Linked DNA regions of Homo sapiens: region 1 is linked to region 2. The links are contacts of gene promoters, found by promoter capture Hi-C in blood cells and fetal thymus (Javierre and others, 2016). All regions are on one chromosome and are shown on one strand. The core of a region is centred on a gene start or on the middle of the fragment in contact, and the rest is flanking DNA. Distances in the headings are between cores, read along the strand shown. Region 1 overlaps USP9X (ubiquitin specific peptidase 9 X-linked). Region 2 holds the start of ATP6AP2 (ATPase H+ transporting accessory protein 2).

Region 1 (5,325 bases), core at 1,766-4,265, 530 kb before region 2:
GCAGTGAGCCGAGGTCGCACCACTGCACTCCAGCCTGGGCAACAGAGCAAAACTCCGTCTCAAAAAAAAAAAAAAAAGAAGAAGAAAAAAAAAAGGTTAGAATGGTAAATTTTATGTATATTTTCCCACAGTAAAATTGTATATATAGAGTACTCACTGTTCCCTTACCTTGCAGTTCTTTTAGCATTTGGAGATCATTTGAGCTAAAATACCTCAAAATTATATTCTCATATTTTTATGCACAATATCCTTCCATCTATATGAATTCAGTAACCATCTATACACAAATCAGAAATATCTGGCAAAAGTCATGGTATAAATTATTCTAGACAAAAGTATCATGTGGATAACTAAGGGACTATCCCTTTAAACAAAATAACTAAGATAAATGGGAAAAGCGGCAGTGTGAAACTCCTCTCTCAAAACACCTTTCTCTAAGACCACAGAACTAAATCATCTTCTGCTTATGACAGGACACTCAATCAGCAAAAGCCTCAAGCTGCTTGCTATCCCTATCTCTTATATAGTCTCGCCTTTCTAGCTCTTGGTTTCTGTTTCTTCTACCCGACAAGCTGTCCTCATTTCTATATTTCCGGTATTGCTGAGCAGGTATGTCAGGTCTCAGCATAGCATACTCTGCTGCATCTCTCTACTACCACATAAGAATTTGATCCCTTTCCCTCAGCACACTAAGATGCAAGATAAAGAGCAGGAAATAGGCATGGAGCAATTAAAAATAATTTCTGGATTCAAACATAACTCATTCAAAATCCAACTTCTGTCACTTACAATCTGCCTATCTTAAAAAGAAAGTAACAACCTCTCTCATTCTTTTTCCAGGTATTTAAAATTGAGATGCTATTACCCACACAAAAAAAAGAAAGCCATGAGAATTGCTTTAATAAAAGGAGTCTCACAAATAGCAAGCACAGTAATTCTCAAAAAAATGTAAATTTTCTTTTCCCTTTCTACAATGTACTGTGCAGAGTTCCTAAATATTTCAGGAATGAATCTGAAAATATTGCCTTCAGATATAATTTGGAAAGGTTTGAGTGGGAGAAAAAAACTTATCACAGATACAACTAAGTTATCCAAGAATAACACCACTACTTTTCTTAATAAATCCTATTCAATACTCAAGTGGTGGAAACAGCTGGGAATCACACAGCTTTGCCTGATTTCAAGTAGCAGTCTCACAACTCTAAAAGAGCCTGTTTTTTATGTCACAGAGATTTAGGCATACCTAGCAGGGCTAGAACAAGCTCTCTACCAAGTCAAAGCAGCAGTATCCTACACACAACTGAACAACTTAGTAATTATTCAAATCATTCAATATTTGACACAGTAACAATCACTTTCCATAGGCATGCTCAAATACAATGAATCACAGTGTGAAATTTTACCACATGAAGTTTTACGCTTTATTTCATAAAAACAAAATTATTACACAAACAGAAGCATCTTTAATTTTCTCAATGGGAAATACAACCAAAATGGTGATTTGATTGCCTCTACAACACACAACACATTTTCATATTCAAACTTAGCATCCTAACATCTTCCACAATGGGAAAAGCATCACCTTTACCTAGATAAAGGCTGGACTGCATTAAGTAATCTAGTACTCCATAAACAGCAAACCATTTACTTTAAACTTTGCAGAACTGAATTTCTCCAGCAGCTTTCACACAGGGCCTTAATACCAGAGAAATCCCTTTTAGAACAAAGAATTATCCTTTCTTACCCAGTCATTATCCCAACTCTGCTAAAATTTGCCCTATGTTCCAGAATCTCTCTCCTTTTATACAGCACGTTGAAATCCTCTGATTCTACATATGATCCTAGGATACTTAAGATTTTCTTCTCTCAATTTTTCTTTTCATCCAAAAAAAAGGTGTTTAAATAAAAACTCAAAGCTTAGTCATTCAAAAATTGTGTACTGAGCATCTGCAATGGGTCACATATTGTTCTAATCATAGGAGAATATATGGAAGTACACAGTGCATCAAATATCTCTGCTTTTGTGGAACATTACAGACTGGGGATAGAGACAATAAACAAGCAACAGCAACTCCAACCCCCTACCAGATTATTTCCTTTACTGGACATCAAAGTGAAATGAGTTTCTTAGAAAACAATTTGATAGATCATCCTTAAGCTCAAACATGGAAATTATCTTGACTTGGAAATTAATCTTGACTTGTGAATTTTGCCTATTCCGGTTTTATGCACCAACAATCAAAGGGAATTACTTCTCTTCCTTTCAAATTTCTATGTTTAACCGACATCTATAACCCTTGTTTTTCCATTAAAATATTTGACTCACTAGAGACAAGAGACCTAACTGTACAACACAAGCTATACTTAGCCTTCACCAGTAGAGGGCGCCAGACCTCACTACTTTTTTTTTTTTTCTTTTTCTTTTTTTTTTTTTTGGAGACGGAGTCTTGCTCTGTTGCCCAGGCTAGAGTGCAGTGGCACAATCTCGGCTCACTGCAACCTCTGCCTCCTGGTTTCAAGTGATTCTCCTGCCTTAGCCTCCCAAGCAGCTGGGACTACAGGCAGGTGCCACAATGCCGGGCTAATTTTTGTATTTTTAGTAGAGATGGGTTTTCACTATGTTGGCCAGGCTGGTCTAAAACTCCTGACCTCGTGATCCACCCGCCTCGGCCTCTCAAAGTGTTGGGATTACAGGCATAAGCCACTGCGCCCGGCCCATAAATAACTTTTGATTCCTCAGAAACTTAACTACTAACAGCATACTGATGACAAGAAGCCTTACTGATCATAAAGAGGCGACTAACATATTTTGTTACATGTATTATAATACTGTATTCTTACAATAAAGCAAGCTAGAGAAAAAAAGAAACTCAGAAGGGGTGGTGACTCACACACCTGTAATCCCAGCACTTTGGGAGGCTGAGGCGGGCGGATCACTTGAAGTCAGGAGTTTGAGACCGGCCTGGCCAACATGGTAAAACCCCGTCTCTAATAAAAAATGCAAAAAAAATTAGCCAGGTGTGATGGTGTGCACCTTTAATCCCAGCTACTAGGGAGGCTGAGGCAGAGAATCGCTTGAACTCGGGAGGTGGAGGTTGCAGCGAGCTAAGATCGCACCACTGCACTCTAGCCTGGGTGACAGAGTGAGATAGTCTCAAAAAAAAAAAAAAGAAAAGGGAAAAAAAAGGAAAGAAGAAAATCAGAAAATGTATTTATAGTACTGTACTGTTTTTACCAATAAAGTAAAATTACATCATCTGTTTACAAGATCAATCATCTGAAATGGCGGACAACCACAGCTGCAGACCTCAGACCTCAATCTATGGTACCTATCAAGCAATTCAACTTTTTCTTATAAGAAACTTTGCAGAACATTATAACGTCATGACTTTTCTCTGCTTCTTGGGAGCCTGTTCGCCAGCACCACTAGTGACACTTCATGAGTCCCGTAATGTTATTCAAGGTTTATGGTATTGCACTAAACATGATGAAAAATACATGAGAACATGAGAGATCATTTTTTACTATGATAGACCATTTACTGGAGAGATGAACTGCTCATGCAGAGATCAGCGTCACATATTTTCATCGGATACTTACAACAAACTCATCGCAGTAGCAAAAGGAGATGGCTATGAAATTACAGTAGTAGAGAATGTACTAGTTAATTTTATGCAGTTATGACTTAATCCATCTTTACATTTGTTCACATTTCTCTCAACTGCACGTGGCACCACATGTGGTCTATAAAAACGTTTGTGTGCATTAAGTTTTGATAAATGTTAAATTTATAATAGATTTATGTATATTTTATGGTAGTAAATAGATTATTATCTACATGTATTTTACGCGTTCATGACACACCTTTCTTAATTTTTTCAGTATTTCCAAGCTATGCAGTTTATCCTGTTTTTTTCAAATTGTCACAAATCTCCAAAATATTTTCCAATATATTTATTGAAAAAAATCTGCAGTGAAAGTGGACCACACAGTTTGAACCCATGTTGTTCAAGGGTCAACTATATACTGATTTAAAATTATAATGTGAATGTATAAATCAATTGTTTCATGTTTATTACAATCCAGTAAGCAGCATCTTTTCAGCTAAGCTTTCTTTCAAAATGCCCACCATTTTAGAGTACAAAAATACTTATTTTTGGCCAGGCGCGGTGGCTCATGCCTGTAACCCCAGCACTTTGGGAGGCCGAGGCGGGCAGATCACAAATCGGGAGTTGGAGACCATCCTGGCTAACACGGTGAAACCCTGTCTCTACTAAAAATACAAAAAATTAGTCGGGCATGGTGGCAGGTGCCTGAAGTCCCAGCTACTCGGGAGGCTGAGGCAGGAGAATGGTGTGAACCCAGGAGGCAGAGCTTGCAGAGAGCAAGATCGCACCACTACACTCCAGCCCGGGCGACAGAGCGAGACTCCATCTCAAATAAAAACAACAACAAAAAAACGTATTTTTAAGCCAAGTTTAGATCTTTTTGAATTTTTAAATTGAACATGCTGTTGCTATGACAGATTCAATTATGTTTTTAAAGACAAAATTTTAGTGCATTGTTGTCTAGAAGAAAAAGTAACCTACACAGCAGTTTTTCTACCACAGCATGAGAAAGGACACTAAAATAAGGTTATCACAGGTTTGACACACTTCTATGGACACAGAGAAATTGCCAAAAAACAAAAACTGTATAAAGCAGAGCACAAAATAAAAACAGCAAACATTAATAGCTTATATGCTGGACTTCAAGGATTCTTTTGGTGCCTCAATCGAAAACACATGAAATGTGAGTGAAAATAATTATTAAGGGGATAATCTTGACTCTAATATTTTTAGGTAATCTCATTTGCAAACATTACTATTTTAACTAATTATTTAATTGCTTATAATTACTTGTAGCATACACCTCACAATCAATTATATTTAGACACTATGGTCCATAACCACCCTGTGGGCAAGGCGAAACAGGTCTCAGTATTTATGCTAAAGATTTTTTTTCTTTTGTGGACTTGTTGGTTCCATTCCATTCAAAAGTTCTCTGTGGCTCCTTTCCAGTTCTTAGTTTGTATATTATTCTTGAAAAGTTTTAAGTACTTACTTGTGTATCAAGCACAACAGTAGGTGCTTTATTTGTATAATCTCATTTAATCATAATACCTATCTCATACAGCCATCAGTCCAATTTAACAGACATAAATAGAAGCTAAGAGATTAAGTACACTGAGCTTATACAAGATCACAATAATTTCCGTTAAGACTCTAAAACCCTTGGCTCTTCCAACTATACCATGAAGGTTCTCTACAGAATCTGTTGTTCTCT
Region 2 (5,604 bases), core at 261-2,760:
CCCAACACCTCACATAGGTTTTTGGTTTGTTTGTATGTTTGTTTTTGCTTCTGAGACAAGGTCTGGCTCTATCGCCCAGGCTGGAGTGCAATGGCGCGATCTCGGCTCACTGCAACCTCCGCCTCCCGGGCTCAAGCGATTCTCGTACCTCAGCCTCCTGAGTAGCTGGGATTACAGGTGTGCCCCAACACACCCGGCTAATTTTTATATTTGCAGTAGAGATGGCGTTTTGCCTTGTTGGCCAGGCTGGTCTCAAACTCCTGACCTCAGGTGATCTGCCTGCTTCGGCCTCCCAAAGTGCCGGGATTACAGGCGTGAACCACCGCGCCCGGCCTCCCATAGGTTTTAAACTGACACACTGAGATCAGAGCACCCATTCCTCCAAGCCGTTCTCAACTTGGCCTCTTGTTCACTACTGTCTGTGCCTCCAGTCTCAGTCCCCATCACTCCCACATTCTCACACAGTAATAGCGTTACTTGTGCAACACAACATATATAATGGAAAAGGCCGATGCGCTGGCACCACCTCATCTGAAATCAAATCCAGCACCCAACCTGTTTAGTGTTGGGTAATTTATTTAGGTTGATCACCCTGCAAAACAAAGATGATGCCCTCTAAGGACTGCTGTCAAATGAAATACATTACCACATGATATGCAGTAAGAGGCCACGTATTAGCTGATTTCTTCACCTCTTGCTGAATGCTTAGGAATCTAGGTTCTACTCAGAAAGCTACCATTTATTGACATGTGACCCTAAAAATGCGACTCACATCCTGTTTCCAAATCCTTAAAATTTGGAACTCTGACAAACTATTGAGAGGTGCTTTGTATTCGCCTTAAGAAATATAAGTCATATAAAAATAATGACTCCATCTCAACTTTTGCATCCGGAAATATACATAAGGGAAGGGAGGGGCAGGGATTTCAGCAATTACTGATGACAACCACTAGAAATGAAGGCACCATACAAATGCAAAAACATCGTGGCAGCCAGTGGCAGCTAAAAAGTCTGCCTTCTCTTCTTCGCAGCGGGCTGCGACTCAATCCCAGTTCACTGAGAAATGCATCTCCGTACTCTGAAGGGCCTTTTCAGGCGCAAGAAGCCGGCCGGACGCGCCGCCCTCAAAGTGGAGGGTGGAGGCAGGCTCAGGGGCCCCCTACGCAGCCCAGCCCCGGCCCCGGCGGCCCGTGAGGCCGCGCCGCCACGGCCGATCCAGAGAAGATGCTGACGGGGACGCGGCTGAGGCGAGGCCGCCGCTGACGGACCGCACTGCGGCACCTGCCTCGCAGCTACTCGCCCGCGGCCGCCCCCGACCCCCAAGCCCCGCGGCGCAGGACCTCCCCAGGCACGTCCTGCCGGCCCCCGGCTCCTCACCCGCCACCAACGCCAGGAGCACGACAAACACAGCCATGGTGCCGCGGCGGCCGCAGCACTGCGGGGCGACACGGAACGGGCCGGCGGGACACGGGCGACAGCCGCAGCGTGAGGAGGTGACGCGCTCGGACTCGTCCAGGCTCCCGGGTCCCGTCCCTTCGTCGCTTCCGCTGGGACAGCTGCCGCTTTCTCCACCAATCACCAGTTACGCCGCGGCCTACGGAAGGGACGTAACCTGGGAAGCGACAGCCTGATAGGCGGGACTTAAAGTAACGGATGGAGAGTTCTACCAATGGTAGGCAGCGATTGAAAAGTCGGGCAGTCCCGCCCCCCGGTCGGTGATGACGGGTCAAGAGGTGGAGCGTAGGGCGGGTAGTCGGAATGGGTGATGGAGCTAGTCGAGGGGTCCCGGAGCCCACGGGGTGAGGGTGCCTCCCGAGTGCAGATCTTTCTGCCAGTCTCGAGCGACGGTCTCCAACCAGGGTGTCTGTCTTTCCTGGTCGTGTGCCTCCGCCCGGCTACGGACGCCAGCTGTGAAAGGCGGGGCTGGTTGGGGTTTCGCTCTAACAAGTATACAGACGCCGAGCACCTACTGGGAAGAAGCCAGGCGCAACGGGGAACCCCTGCCTTCCACATAGTGGTGCCAGATAAAATACAGGGCGCCCAGTTAAATTTGAATTTCATGTAAACAACGATTATTTGTTATTATGTCGCAATTAATTTATGGGACATACTTGTATTAAAAGAAGTATTACTGGTTATCTGAAATTCAAATATAACTGGGTATCCTATATTTTGATTCGCTAAGTCTGGCAACTCTACCTCCAAAGACTTTCCAATCTACAAGGAGTCATGGGACAGAAAGTTAATTAATTACTTAATTTGTCCATTCACTCAGTTTCCAATCTGGGCAAGGTGTTCTATGAGGATGTATGAAGGCTAGACATAGTAATTAGACCAGGCTCCTCCCCTCCCGCAGTTCATAGTCTTTTGCCTATGATGTGAGGCAAGAAGGGACACACTATAGCGTCTGTAGGTAGAAAATGACGCCCCAGCTGATGACCTTGAAAGGTGGAAATGATTTCATATCCAAGGATAGGAGATGGGGAGATTGTTCCAGTGAAAACTGTAGTTAAGGTGGGGAGAAAGCCCCGTCAGGTTAAGCATCAGTAATCAAATAAGAGATTATATGAGAGAGGAGGCACAGAGCTAAAACTTTCAGTTAGGCACATTTATTGAGGATTTTAAATTGTACATAAGAGACCTACACTAAGCCATTGAAGGCGTTTGAGCATGATTTACTGCACAAATGTAAGACAGACTTATTGGCGGGGGGGAGGGGGGGAATGCCTTACTGTTTCTTCAGTTTCCAGTCCCATTTTCTTCTTGGAGTTTCCTGAGGATGAAAAAATGAGAGCGAGTTAAAAACAGTGACCCCAGGAGTTCCCCAGGTAGCAGACCCACCCTAGGAAAACCTTGCCCAACTGAAAACTGAATCAGAAAGACACTCTCGAGGCCAGGTGTGGTGGCTCACACCTGTAATCCCAGCGCTTTGAGAGGCCGAGGTGGGAAGATCCTTTGACACCAGGAGTTGAAAACCAGCCTGGATAACATAGTGAGGCCCTGTCTTTTTATTATTAGAAAATAAAGAAAGCAAAAAAAGAGAAACACTCACTAAATAGTTTGAACTTTCTAGAACACACTATGCTTACCAAAGCCACTCTCAAATTTAGGGAACAGAGTCGATTTCCTCACCTAACGTCAAGAAACAGGAAACTCTCAAACTTGCTTTTCCTCTAGAGGAGAATTTGTACAAATGGGACTTTAGAGAACTCTGAAAGGGAGAAGAGAGATTTTTCCATCAGGCATGTGAAATTATTAGAACCAAAATGTCTAAAGCACCCCTCCAAAACATCCACTCTAATGTGACTGACTCGAAAAAAATTAATCACTTTTTTTGTTGTTGTTGAGACGAAGTTTCCCTCTTGTTGCCCAGGCTGGAGTGCAGTGGTGCGATCTCAGCTCACTGCAACCTCCAACTCCCGAGTTCAAGCAATTCTCCTGCCTCAGCTTCCCAAGTAGTTGGGATTACAGGCGCCAACCACCACGCCCGGCTAATTTTTGTATTTTTAGTAGAGACGGGGTTTCACCATGTTGGCCAGGCTGGTCTCGAACTCCTGACCTCAGGCGATCCACCCACTAAAGCCTCCCAAAGTGCTGAGATTACAGGCGTGAGCCACTGCTCCCGGCGGAAAAAAATTAATCATTTTTAAAAATTCATTTTTAAGCATGATAAATTCACAATCTTTTCACACCAACTAAAATTCTTTGTCCATCTCCCTGCATGTCTTAGAACAGGTTTTGAATCACAGGCCCTGCAAGAACTTATCTAAACCTTATTTAGGGACATAATCAGCTAAAAGTGGAGCAGACCTCCTGCCATTTCATCCAGCTTAAGGAAACAGGGAAAGGAGTGAATGTTTCTGTTCTTAAGACTTCTAGTACATTCTTATTTCTTTGAATTTGAGGAAGATGAAAAAATTTGTAAATAGACTGGAATATAAAATAAGTCCCCACCCCCCCATTCCCCCAGAAAACCTCACAATCTTTCACAATCCATTTATGTCTTGAGAAATAACATCCCCTTTTGAGCTAACAGCGAATAGTGTATTCTTTACACCTAAGGGCCCTTTTCACCTGAGGTTGCAAAGGGGCATTGTTGTTCTCTACAACCTTGGAATTTAGCAAGATAAACATTGTCGGAAGCCCTCTCCTTGTTTCATAGATTGAGAGATTGAAGCCTAGGGAAGGGCATATGTACTCAAGGTCATATTCTGAATCGTCAGCAGTTCTGCTTCGTGAATGCAGCCCTGCTGATTCAATCTTTAGCGCTCAGTAAACAACTGGTGATGTGCGGTTAACTTTTCCACTGAAGCATTTAGAGATGGATATGTGTGTAGCAGGGTAATACAATATTTGAAGTTATGACCCCATTTGTTAGCCTAAAAGAAGCCTTTCTCCACCCTCCCCACAGGCCAAATAGGCAAGACTGCAGCCATCCGTTGCCCTGAGGGGAGGACTCTCAGGAGAACCTGAAAACAAATGTCAAATTCTTGGCTCTTGAGTTTCAAAACTAGAGGTCCAGATGCAAGATTTGAAAGAATACATAATTCCATTTGCTTCCTTAAGTCTCGCCCTCGTCCCCCAATTAAGTCCAGCAGTGAGTTCTGAGTGATCCCGGAGTGAGCGCGATAACATGAGCTGATCCCTGCAAATGAGACATCCCATCCAGGAGCCCTGTGGAGGCGAAGATCATGCCCCTCTCCCAGACCATGCAGTTAAAATTAAGAATTTATGTTCTTCAAAAGGTACTATATACACTATGGAAAGGTGTGGGGGAGGGGAGAGCAGCTTTGCAGTGCAAAAACCCAACAAATACTATCTAGGCGATGTGATCAAGGTCAACACCAACAGTGATCGGTCATGTTGACAGTGTGTGCCCTTGATGTGATACAATGATAATGGCAGGCACTTCACCTCTATGATCTTCCTCCCCCATACCCATAACCCCAGTGTAATCATGAGAAAAACATCAGATAAATGCCAATAGAGGGGCATTCTACAAAATATCTGACTGCTGCTCCTCAGAAGTCATCAAAAACAAGGAAAGTCTGGGCTGGGCGCGGTGGCTCACACCTGTAATCCCAGCAGTTTGGGAGGCCTAGGCGAGTGGATCACTTGAGGTCAGGAGTTCAAGACCAGCCTAGTCAACATGGTGAAACCCCATCACTACCAAAAAATACAAAAATTAGCCAGGTATGGTGGTACGTGCCTGTAGTCCTAGCTACTCGGGAGGCCAAGGCGGGAGAATCGCTTGAACCTGGGAGGCGGAGGTTGCAGTGAGTCAAGCTTGTGCCACTGCAATTTAGCCTGGGCGACAAAGTGAGACCCTGTTTCAAAAGAAAAAAAAATTAGCCAGGCATGGTAGCGCATACCTGTAGTCCCAGCTACTGGGGAGGCTGAGACAGGAGGATCACTTGAACCCAGGAGGTTGAGACTGCAGTAAGTCAAGATCTCATCATTGCACTCCAGCCTGGGTGACAGAGGGCAACGCTATCTCCAAAAAAAAAAAAAAAAAAAAAAAAAACCCAGAAACTATATTTTTAAAGAATCCAGCATAGATGACAAAAGTTTAAAGAAAAGCAAGGAAATGGTTACCATAAAAAA

The links. Contacts are between HindIII fragments. The CHiCAGO score rates a contact against its expected background, and 5 or more counts as called.
Region 1: a contact is called between a fragment that was not itself captured here and the fragment with the promoter of ATP6AP2 in region 2, in 1 of 17 cell types (neutrophils). The highest score is 6.7, in neutrophils.

The regions. Positions count from the first base shown.
Region 1 is chrX:41,112,332-41,117,656 of GRCh38, reverse strand. All of the region lies in intron 1 of USP9X (ubiquitin specific peptidase 9 X-linked), which reads right to left. Among named protein-coding and RNA genes, the nearest start is that of USP9X, 30 kb to the right of the region's middle. RefSeq lists an enhancer at 555-614 and a silencer at 2,875-3,007. The HindIII fragment of the contact is 2,193 bases long and covers 1,919-4,111 here.
Region 2 is chrX:40,576,876-40,582,479 of GRCh38, reverse strand. ATP6AP2 (ATPase H+ transporting accessory protein 2) reads right to left here and starts at 1,510. Exons shown (of 9, transcript NM_005765.3): 1 at 1,378-1,510. The coding sequence starts at 1,414. RefSeq lists a silencer at 1,131-1,440 and enhancers at 1,601-1,810, 1,861-2,010. The HindIII fragment of the contact is 11,326 bases long and covers 1-5,288 here.